Regions from separate parts of the Homo sapiens genome. Here region 1 is linked to region 2. Evidence: promoter capture Hi-C in human tissues and cell types (Jung and others, 2019). All regions are on one chromosome and are shown on one strand. The core of a region is centred on a gene start or on the middle of the fragment in contact, and the rest is flanking DNA. Distances in the headings are between cores, read along the strand shown. Region 1 overlaps MYH9 (myosin heavy chain 9). Region 2 holds the start of GGA1 (golgi associated, gamma adaptin ear containing, ARF binding protein 1).

What was found. The method cuts DNA at HindIII sites, captures the fragments that hold promoters and counts their contacts. A contact is called where the count stands out against the background at its distance.
Region 1: a fragment that was not itself captured here is called in contact with the fragment with the promoter of GGA1 in region 2 in 1 of the 25 tissues and cell types used here (spleen).

What each region holds. Positions count from the first base shown.
Region 1 is chr22:36,366,125-36,371,202 of GRCh38, reverse strand. All of the region lies in intron 1 of MYH9 (myosin heavy chain 9), which reads left to right. Among named protein-coding and RNA genes, the nearest start is that of MYH9, 19 kb to the left of the region's middle. RefSeq lists an enhancer at 1,843-1,932 and a silencer at 2,245-2,539. The HindIII fragment of the contact is 6,874 bases long and covers 1-5,078 here.
Region 2 is chr22:37,606,840-37,611,994 of GRCh38, reverse strand. GGA1 (golgi associated, gamma adaptin ear containing, ARF binding protein 1) reads right to left here and starts at 3,161. Exons shown (of 17, transcript NM_013365.5): 1 at 3,092-3,161. The coding sequence starts at 3,134. RefSeq lists enhancers at 2,332-2,441, 2,156-2,777, 3,382-3,551, 3,702-3,781, a silencer at 2,772-3,221 and a cis regulatory region at 4,526-4,985. The HindIII fragment of the contact is 29,756 bases long and covers 1-5,155 here.

The DNA.
Region 1 (5,078 bases), core at 1,203-3,702, 1.2 Mb after region 2:
GGGAGTTAGGGCTCCAACATAATGGATATTTTTGGGAGGGACACAATTCAATCTGTAACAGGGAAGAAGGGAGTAGGGGAGTGTGTTTGTGTCAGCAGAGGGTTCTCTGATCCAGGGACATTCTGTGGATGCCTTCAGATCTGGGGGAGGAGCCCTCCAGGACGGTGCTCTACCGGTTGTTTAATTGCTTTGAGCTCCAGTTTCTGTATCTGTAAATTCTGGTTCATAGAACTATCTGTTAGTGTTCTCTGGGTAGCTAAAGTATGAAATGCTCTCAGCAGTGTCTAGTTCATGATGGACTCCCGATAAGTATCAATGCCCCTCCTGCCCTTCTTCCCACCCCCCACTGCCCACCCCTGGTTCACCAGCGCTTTTTCCTTTTGTCCCACTTTGCTCTCTGCTCCGGGCTTCTACTTCTGATCAAAACACTTGAGAACTGGGTGGGGGCTGCCCTGGCTGCTCCCAGCTCCCAGGCTGCCCTGCCTTCTGCCCAGTGCCTGTGAGCCAATTGTTCTTGGAGGTGGCTCCTCCCCTCTGTTAAGTCATAAGCACTTTTGACACCGGTAAGGAGGAACTGTTGTAGAAAGCTGGTGCAGGACTATAACCTAAACTCCCAGGTACTGGCCCGAGTGTTGGATGGCTGCGGTTCGAGCGTGCGTTGCCAAATGCTTCGCTTATGCCACTGTTCCCAGCGGACTGCTTCATGTCTTAGCAATTCTCTGTGCTGGCTTATGTGCTGGTCTTGCTTCCCCTTTTAGAGGCCTTGTCGCCAGGACCCTTGCATGGTGCCTTGCCCATGGTGAGCACTTGATACATGCTTGAGAAACAGGTGAGGATATTCATACTAGAATGTGGGTGGCACAGACCCTGATGTCCTGGGTAGATGGCTTTATTTCTTTGGCTTCTGAGCCTCACCAGCATGATGGGCGTGTGTCTGGTGCTTAGGTAAATAGGCAGGCACTCTGGACTCAGACCATCTGCCCTAATCTTGGTTCTCCCACCTGCAGGCCCTTTGACCTTGAGTGAGTCATACAATCTTTCTTTGTGCCTCAGTTTTCCTTATCTGTGGAATGAGGAAAATAAATGCCACAGAGGGTTTTGATGCTAATAAAGTATAGCTTTATTGTTTATATGTTTTATCTGTCCACAATTTATCTGGCACAGTGCCAGGTGATATATTTTTATCTGTTTAAAAATTTCAGTCTATTTTTTATATCACGTTACAAAGGTTAAAGTCACTTTCAAGTTATTGCAACAAAAGTCTCTCAATCCCATGAAGGTGGCAGTATTAGTGTTCCTATTTTGTAGCTGGGAATGTTGAGAGTCCAAGAAAACCTACGTGACTAGCCCCAGGTAGCAAGTGAATGATCTAAAATCCTCTCCCAGCTCCTCATTTTCAGGCCAGTTATTTTCCATATCTACTTCCATCGCCTCTCCTGCCTTCTCATCCCACTTCAACCACTATGTGGACAATAGTTGTGAAATTGGGTTTTTGTAGACTTCCACACATAGCCTCACAGTGGTGGTTGCTGGGTCGCGTTACCTAGTTGGCTTTATGGCACCAGCTGTAAATTACAGCCCTCCCTGTTCCATCCTAAGAGACCTGTCGGGTAGACAGCAGGTGAAGGCTGGCAGGCTGGTGTGAGGTCTGGTTAGCCTGGTCCTTGTGGGGAACCTGGGTTTTTGCTGTCCTCCCTCTGAAGAATGGATACCGCCCCCTCGTACCTTCCTAGCCCACCAGCATGCTGTTCTCAGCCCGCCTTCTGCCCAGAGCCGGCCTGCCGCCCACTGTTTCCTGCCTTTGCCAGGGCGAGGGGGAGGTGGGTATATAATGCCAAATGCTCATGAAAAACGCCTCATCATGAGATTAATTACTTGCTGCCGAGCACTGTGGAATTCACGAGTCTCCATCAGCACCTCAACGTCTTCCCCTGAACTCTACCTGGGGTTAGTTCTGTGGACTCTCTGGCTAGAACTTTAAACCTATGTTAGACAGAAAGAAATAGATAGTGGCCACCAGTACGATGCTGAAGATCAGTCTGGCAAAATCCCTCCTGCCATTGACTAGCTGTGTGTCCTGGAGGCTTGATGTCCTCAAAGTGGGGACGCTAGGCTGAGGGCGCTTTCTGGTTGTGAGGCCTGGGTGTGCTGACCTGTGCAGTATCATACACCTTGGAGGACCAGCGTGGTACAGAGGGGCTGCAGAGGGGTGGGTCTCTTCCCTTTTAATACAGGTCACAGGCTTTAATGACCCTTAGGTTGAAATTAGAGCCCCCCCACCCCCACCCCCTTGCCTTACTTCTGGCTTTTACACAAGAATCTGAAGAATGTGATGCTCTATCGCGGACGGGGCAGGCTTCGCAGGCTCTTCCGGGCTTTGCAGGGCAGCCTTTGTTGTGCTGCAGGACCTGGGGCATTCCGAATTGGTTGTGGTTGGGAGTCAGAGACAACTCCAGGCTTATTAAATTCCTGGCTGTTTAGGGCGATATAGACAGCTGGGAGGGGTAAGGGTGGGGAGATAACACTCCTCCACCTCCCAGCACTGTTATCTTAGAGAAATTGGGTTAAAAGTGAGTCTGCTGGAGGGGATTGGTAGCAGACAGGAGGACAGATACTGGTGCTTTGGCCCTGGGCTACTGGAAAGCTTGCGGGTCCACCTCTGCGCTTCTCCTTCCTGATCACGGAGCAACTGCTGTTGACCAGGTCCTATGTGACGCCTTGCCAGATGCTCTGTGTGCATTCGCTGTCTCATTGCACCCCTAGAGGCAGTGGAGCAGAGTGGTTAGGGATGGAAGACCTGGAGCCCCAAGTGAGACCTGCAGGGTACAGACACCGGCAGCTAGTGCCTGTGTGTCCTTCAGCAAGTAAGCCTTCTGGCCTTGTTTCCCCATCTGCAAAACGGGATACCACTAGAATCTACCTCACAAGAGTGCTGTGTGCTAAAGTGAGATTCCTGGTGAAAAGCACTCAGAATAAAGTGCAAGTGGCCGTTATTTAATTACCAACAGGGTCCTGGGAGGTGGGCCTTTTCATTCCCATTGTACAGATGAAGAAAGGGAGGTTCAGGACATTTAAATAATTTGCCGGATTTCCTGAACCAGTGAGGAGAATCCAGCGCTTACCTCCAGGTTGGCCTGACTTCGGCCATATCCCAGCATCCTCTGGGGTGTCTGTATGCAGGCATGTGTGTGTGTGTGTTTGTATATGTGCATGTCTGTTTGCACAGGTCTCTGTGTGCATGTCTCTGCACCTCTGTGTGCACAGATCTTTGCACGTGTCTGTGTGCATGCATATCTGTGTGTGTGCAAGTCTGTATGCACCCATCTTGGACTGGGGAGGGGAGGAGGGGGCCTGGGGCTCTGTCCAGGGCAGGATGGCATTGGCCCAAATCTGGCAGCTCTCTAGAGCAGGGGCCGCTGCTGCTTCCTTCTTTCATGTGCAGCCACAGCTTTGGCCACTTTCAAACCAGACTGTGGCCTGGGCAAAGGAGTGCTGCTTGGTGAGTGGTAAAGTAAGCGGTAGTCACGTTTCTGGGGAAGGACTTGGTAAGGTCATCCTGCCGGCCAGGCTGCCTGCTCAAGGACACTGGGGTTGGCCAGCCTTTCAGACAAGGGTGCTGCCGCAACCCAGTCTAGGAGCGGTAAGTTAATTTTTCTGTAAAGTGCAAAATAAGTGGATTTCATCCTCACTTGTATTTGATCATTTCCCCCGGGGAATGCAGGAGGCTCTGGGATGCTTCTCTGGAAAGCTTGGCATTGCCTGCCATGCCTTCTATATGTCCAGGGCTGGCTGTGTGCTTGCTCATTTGAGAACCGGAGCAAGGGATGGAAATGTCGGGAGGAGAGACCGTTCACCCTTCAGTTTTGGGCTTCTTGTTCCTGGAGTCCAGGGCACCCCAGAGCAGTGCAGGAGAATCGGCCTCCCTCCCGTGCCACGTGGACTCTTGCTATTGGGTTATTCTGTCCACAGCTTTGCTTCCTCAGCGAGATCCTGCTTAACCCTCCGGAGGGTGACGAAGGAAGAGATCCTGCCTCAAGTCTTTGTTCATGTTGCCTTGGTAGAAAAGGAGGCCGCACTAGTGCCCCATTACCTTTGAGCTTGTGACCAGGGGACTCCTAAAAGTCCATGGACCGCACTGCAGAGTCTCTGCGAGCCCCCTAACGTGGTATGCAAGGCGTTCACCACCTCTCACAAGTTCTCAAAGGGGTCCTTGACCACTGACCTAGACAAATAGAAGCTTTGGGTTTTCCATTTGTAGAGTGTGCACACGTGAGTGTCGCATAACGGATGCAGCCTGGGGGCCGTTAGGATCAGGATGGGGGTTTGTTCTAGTCTAAGTTGTGCCACCCCAGGGGTGATCACTTTCCTGGGGCTCATCACTGTAGCTCCAGCACAGTGGCCTTCCCCTCCCTGATGATCCTTCTTGTATTTAAGCCTTTAGAACACCGTCACTTCTGGGTATCTCTTCAGTGTGGGGCTGGGCCTGGAGATGGGAGGGGTGATGTTTCTGATGCCAGACTTGATCTCTTGTTACCTTGGATGCTGAGGAAGGTGGGCTCCTCTTTCGTTCTTGTGCTCTTGCCCCTGCACATCGGCAGGGATGTTCCCGGGAAACCCTGTACCTAGGCAAGTCACTTAGCCTCCCTGAGCCTCTGAGGCTCTCTCCTTTTTTAGGGGGAGGGGCCGCGTGACCCTTCACTTTGCCAAGGCTGGCGGGATCAGATGATGTAAACACCACGAGATGAATGTGTCAGGTGATTGGGTTGCTACAGCTGAGTCTCACTTGCCTGGAGTGGGACACTCCCCCCGACCCCCCACCTCTCACTGAGTTTCCCTTTGGCTTTGGACTTGAGTTTCTGCTTGGCCTGGCTATGTGATCTTAGGCAGATCGTTCCTCTCCTTCCTAGCGTAGATAAGTCACGGTGGTGTTTTTCAAGAACTTTCAAGTGAGATTCATCGGTGGGTCGTGAAGTGAGTGGCAACCAGTTTGTTTGTTTATTTATTTATTTATTTTTGAGATGGAGTCTCGCTCTGTCACCCAGGCTGGAGTGCAGTGGCAGGATCTTGGCTCACTGCAA
Region 2 (5,155 bases), core at 1,912-4,411:
TTTTTGGTAGAGATGGAATTTCACCATGTTGGTCAGGCTGGTCTCAAACTCCTGACCTCAAATGATCCACCCACCTCGGCCACCCAAAGTGCTGGGATTACAGGCATGAGCCACTGTGCCTGACCAAAATATTGATTTTGGATGACAAAATACTTTTTGCATGGGAAGGCCATGGCGGCAGCCAGAGCTCGATCTTCATTTCTCCACAGCCCACCTCTAAGGACCACCCCTTCCCAGCCAGTTCTGCCCACGCCTGAGCACCGAGCTGAGGGTGTGGAAGGACACAGCCCAGGAGGTAGAACAGAGAAGGATCTGTGGACAGGAGGCTGGGGACTGACCCAGCATGTGGCGCCTGCCCTGGGCCATATGTTATGGCAGGGGGCCCAAAGCCCTGGAATCCCAGTGGCTGGCCGCCATTCATCCAACTCAGATTTAAGTATTCTGGGTGCTGGGGCTCCAGCAGTGAACAGACAAAATCCCTGCCCTCCTCAAGTTCACTGCCCAGCAAGAGAAACAATGAATACTCAGATTAACAAACCCCGTGTACTGCAGACTGTTGCAAAATGTTACAGAGCAAAGCATAGCAAGGAGAAGTGCAGACAGCCTGGGAGGTGGGGGCTGCTCTCTGGGAGGGCTTTCGGAGGGCTCTGGAGCCCTCGGGAGCTGCTCTCTGGGAGGGCTCTCAGAGCTGAGCTGAGATCGGAAGGACGAATGTTCTCTCTGGATCTAGATCTCTGTCCCAGGAGCTCCACAAGACCCTCTAGTCCCTCAGAAAAATGAAGCCCCTGTTGACCTCCTGGGGATACCAGGAATATGACCCTCCCCAACCCAGGGGTAAGGGTAACTGTCTACTCTGCCTCCGAGTCCCCAAACAAAGGCTGGGGAACATCAGTCTAAAGTTAGAGAATCACTGCCCATTCAATGACACCCAGCCAGAAGACCCTAAAACAGGAAGTCCCTTAAAGTGTCAAAGACACGTGAGTTGGAGTGAGGTCAGAGAAGCTGATTCTGGACTGCTCCTGGGTCAGACGCCAGTGAAGAGGAAGCGCTGGCATCATGAGACATCATCTTTCTCCCCCTGCCTCTGGCTGAAAGCCAGGGCCTCCAGATCCAAGGAGATCTGACTGACCTCCTTGGCCCATGGCCCCTGACCCTCAGCCCTCTTAATTCTACCTGAGGGGAGTACCCTCCCTAGCAGGCAGTTGGGGAGAACACCTAGAGAGGGAGGGAGGTGTTTCACAACAGGGTAAGACTCCACCCTGCCACTCTATAGTGCTGACAATAACATCATTTACCTCACTAGGCCGGGCGCGGTGGCTCACGCCTGTAATCCCAACACTTTGAGAGGCCGACGTGGGCGGATGAGTGGCTAACGCCTGTAATCCCAACACTTTGAGAGGCCTATATAGGCGGATCACCTGAGGTCAGGAGTTCGAGATCAGCCTGGCCAACATGGTGAAAGCCCACCTGTACTAAAAATACAAAAATAGCTGGGCGTGGTGGCGCACCTGTAATTCCAGCTACTCGGGAGGCTGAGACAGGAGAATCACTTGAACCCGGGAGGTGGAGGTTGCAGAGAGCTGAGATTGTGCCACTGCACTCCAGCCTGGGTGACAAGAGTGAAAACCCGTCTCAAAAAAAAAAAGAAGAAGCTATCCTTTACCTCCAGCCTCCACAAGGGAAGAGGAAAGATCTTACAATTCTGCTAGGACACAAAGGGGGAAGGAAAGGAGAAAATCCCAGCCCCAGTGTGTCAGGGCCCAGCCAAACCCAGGTATCTCTAACTTCTGCCTGGTTTTAGACTCTCTGGACTCTCAGAAAACCCCCACTGTTTCTAAACCTGAGAATGTTTTGTATGACCCACAGCTCAAGACCTGTGTCTGAGATCAGTTAGCCAGGGGCCCACCCATCCCCCCAGCCCAGTTGCTGCTGAGACCCAGGCGGACACTTCCGGCGTTCACAACGGTCAAGGGCTGCTGAGTGCCCCTTTTCCACCCCCTGCCCCTCTGGTGGCTAGGATGACTCTGAAACATCCCTAGAGGTTTGGTTCTGGGGCCAACCTCATGGTTCAACTCTGCTCAAGCCTGGCTTAAAAGGGGCCGGCCATGACCCCAAACCACGCTAGACAGTTGCCGGTGTGCCCGGGTCCAAGAGGGTTCCCTGAGGCCCTGGCAACGACGGGGTCCCAACAGCAGTTAAAGCCTTGGGAGAGAACCCTCACTAGACCAGGGAGAAGCCAGCCACGGCTTTCAGAGGCAGAGTCCAGGAGCGGGGCTGTGAGAGCAGGGGATCATCAGGGCTGTGGGTTAAGGAGCTCAGGTGGAGGGTTTGCGGGCTAGGAAGCCTAAGCAATAGGAAGCTACGTCTGAGGAGAAACAAGAAAAAAAGGGGTGTAGAAGCCTTTGAAGGAAGTTCAGCAAGAGCTGGGAAAGGCATCTTGGAGACTGAGGGGTTAGGCTGAAGGGAGTGACAGGGAGCTTGGAATTATTAATACTTCTGGAGTCTAAGACTCTCCCAAGCCTGTAGGGTGCGGGGGTTTCTCACTATGTGGCTAGAGACTAGGAGCGGCGGGAGGAATCAAATGGGGCAGTGGGTCCTCCCTTCCAGGACGGGGTAATGAGCAAATGTGACTACTTGCGGGCTCCAGGAACGCCATGCAGGGCCAGAGAGTGGAGGATTCGGGGCCTGAAAATAGTAGGGTCCCTCCCTCCCGGGTGTGAGATGCAACCCCGGGGAACCGCTCGCGTGCTCCTTCCCCGGGCCGCTACTCCGTGAAGCAATGTGAGCCTTGGGGGTTGGAGGCTGCTCTCTCCGTCCCGGGGGTTCCCGGCGCAGCTCACTCGCCGTCCCAGGGGTCATGGCCCAGGGATCCGACAGGTGGGCGGCGCCCGCTCCCACCGCTGGACCGCGCCGGGGCCGGGGTCCTCCATCGCTCCAGGGTCTGAGGGGCCGACTGAGGACACCGCCCCTCCCGGGCCGGGGGCGGGGCGTGAGGAGGGGGCGACCCGTACCCCGCCCCCGCCGGGAAGGGGCCCGCCTCGTGCCCCCGGTTCCGGTTCCGGTCCGGCCCGCGCCCCTCCCGGACACTCACTGATTCGCGCCTCCAGAGTCTCCGGCTCCATCGCGGGCTCCATCCGCCACCGGCCCCCAGCCTCGGCACCGCCCCCCCGCCCCCCGCAGCTCTCGCGGGACCTCCTGGGCACCGCCCTCTGCCGATTAAAGGGGCAACGTCCGAACGGGCGCGCTCGGCACCATAGAGAGGCCAACGAGCTCGCCTAGAGCGTCACCTACTCGCCCAACCCCACCCCCACGCGGCGTCTACGTCGCAGCTGGGACCGGCCGCCTGCTTTTCCGTTCCCGGCGCTCAGGCGGGAGAGGAAGTGGAGATACTGCAGGCTAAGGGCAGCACCATGGAAACCCCAAGGGACGCTCTAACTCGTTCTGCGTCACGGAGATGTCTGTGACCGCCTCCGGAAGAATTCTCTGCGGGCATGTTGCTGAGGGGCTCTGAGGCCACTTCCGGAGCCCTGAGCGGGTACTTCCGCTTAGAGTCGAACGTGGGAGAGTCCCTTAAAAGGGCGATAAGCTACATCCTCATGTACCTTGGCCGCTGTGAAAATGACGAAAATAAATCAGTTTCTTGAGTGCTTACAGTATTCTGGGCATTGTCCTAAGCACTATTTGTAATTAATCCATTTAGTTCTGACTCCTTACAACAAACCCACCAGATAATTAGTCGGCCTGAGGCCGCACAAGTAGCAGAGCTTGAACCCTGTGCCGTCTCCTCCATTCATCCAGCCAACGTTTAATGAACTCTTTGTATTTGCTTTGCTCTGTGATGGGCACAGAAGGAGATAGACAAGGCCAGATATTTATTACAGTGTGATAGGGGAAGCCCACGGGGTAGTGGGAACAAAGGAGGGGGCTCCTCCCCCAAACTGGGGTGGGGTGGGTGGGGGTGTTGTCAGGGGAGGGGTCGTGTCAGGGGAGGGGTCGTGTCAGGGGAGGTTTCAAGAGAAAGTGATACTGTACTTCGCTCAAAGACAGTCGGATTTCTCCACGTAGAGCTGGTGCGAAAAGATATTCAGGGAGAAAAAGTAGGATGAAGGCCGAGGAGGGCGGATCACGAGGTCAGGAGATCGAAACCATCCTAACACGGTGAAACCCCGTCTCTACTAAAAAAAAAAAAAAAAAAAAATTATCTGGGCGCGCCTTTAGTGCCAGCTACTTAGAAGGCTGAGGCAGAAGAATCGCTTGAACCCGGGAGGTGAAGGTTGCAGTGAGCCGAGATTGCGTCACTGCACTCCAGCCTGGGCGGCATAGCGAGACTCAGTCTCAAAAAAAAAAAAAAAAAAAAAAGTAGGATGAGTCCAGGGAGTTGGAAGTATTTCAATACGGCTCCCAGATATCTGCAAATAGATATCTATTTGCAGGAGATATCTTGGAATTAGGCTGGGGCAAGATCACCCAGGTCCCATGTTTTGCTGCCCTTTTTTTTTTTTTTCCCTGTAAGCAACGTTGGAGGTGTCGTTACAGTTTTACGGATGGTAGCAAAGTCAGGCTTTTGTTTTAGAAGGGTCCAGCAGTGGGAGGAAGATAGCAGTGGGAGCCAGACTGGAATCGGGGAGGACAGTACGAACAGACTTCCTAAGCTCGGCGCCTTTTCTCCTGTATCTCCCTCCATCAAAGACCTCCCTCACCTTGTGGCGTCACGACCTGGCGGCGCCTGGTCCCCGACTCACCTGGGTCCATTGCACTCTGTCGCCCCCTCGCGGCCGGCTGGGAAACCGGCCCGTGGCGACCTCTCCAGCGGTCCTGTGCCTGGGAGGGTTAAAGCTCCACTGAGACTAGGGAATCTGGCGAATCCGGTTCTGCCTTGGCGACTGACCTCGATTCACCTTGCGGAACCGCAGTAACCTCATCCAGGAGATGAGGGGGCTGTGCTGGGTCAGTTTTTCCCCTAAACTCAACCATTCAGCGACTGGGATGCTTTTCTAAATTCTCTCCCAAAGGCCATTGAGATTATACAGGGAAGTGATATGTATGTTTATTGCATTCCTCAACAAAAGCTGTAACGTAGTGTATACTTATAGCTTTTTGTTTATGTCTTTTACTACTGAAATGAATTATATATATTTTTTTATTTTATTTTATT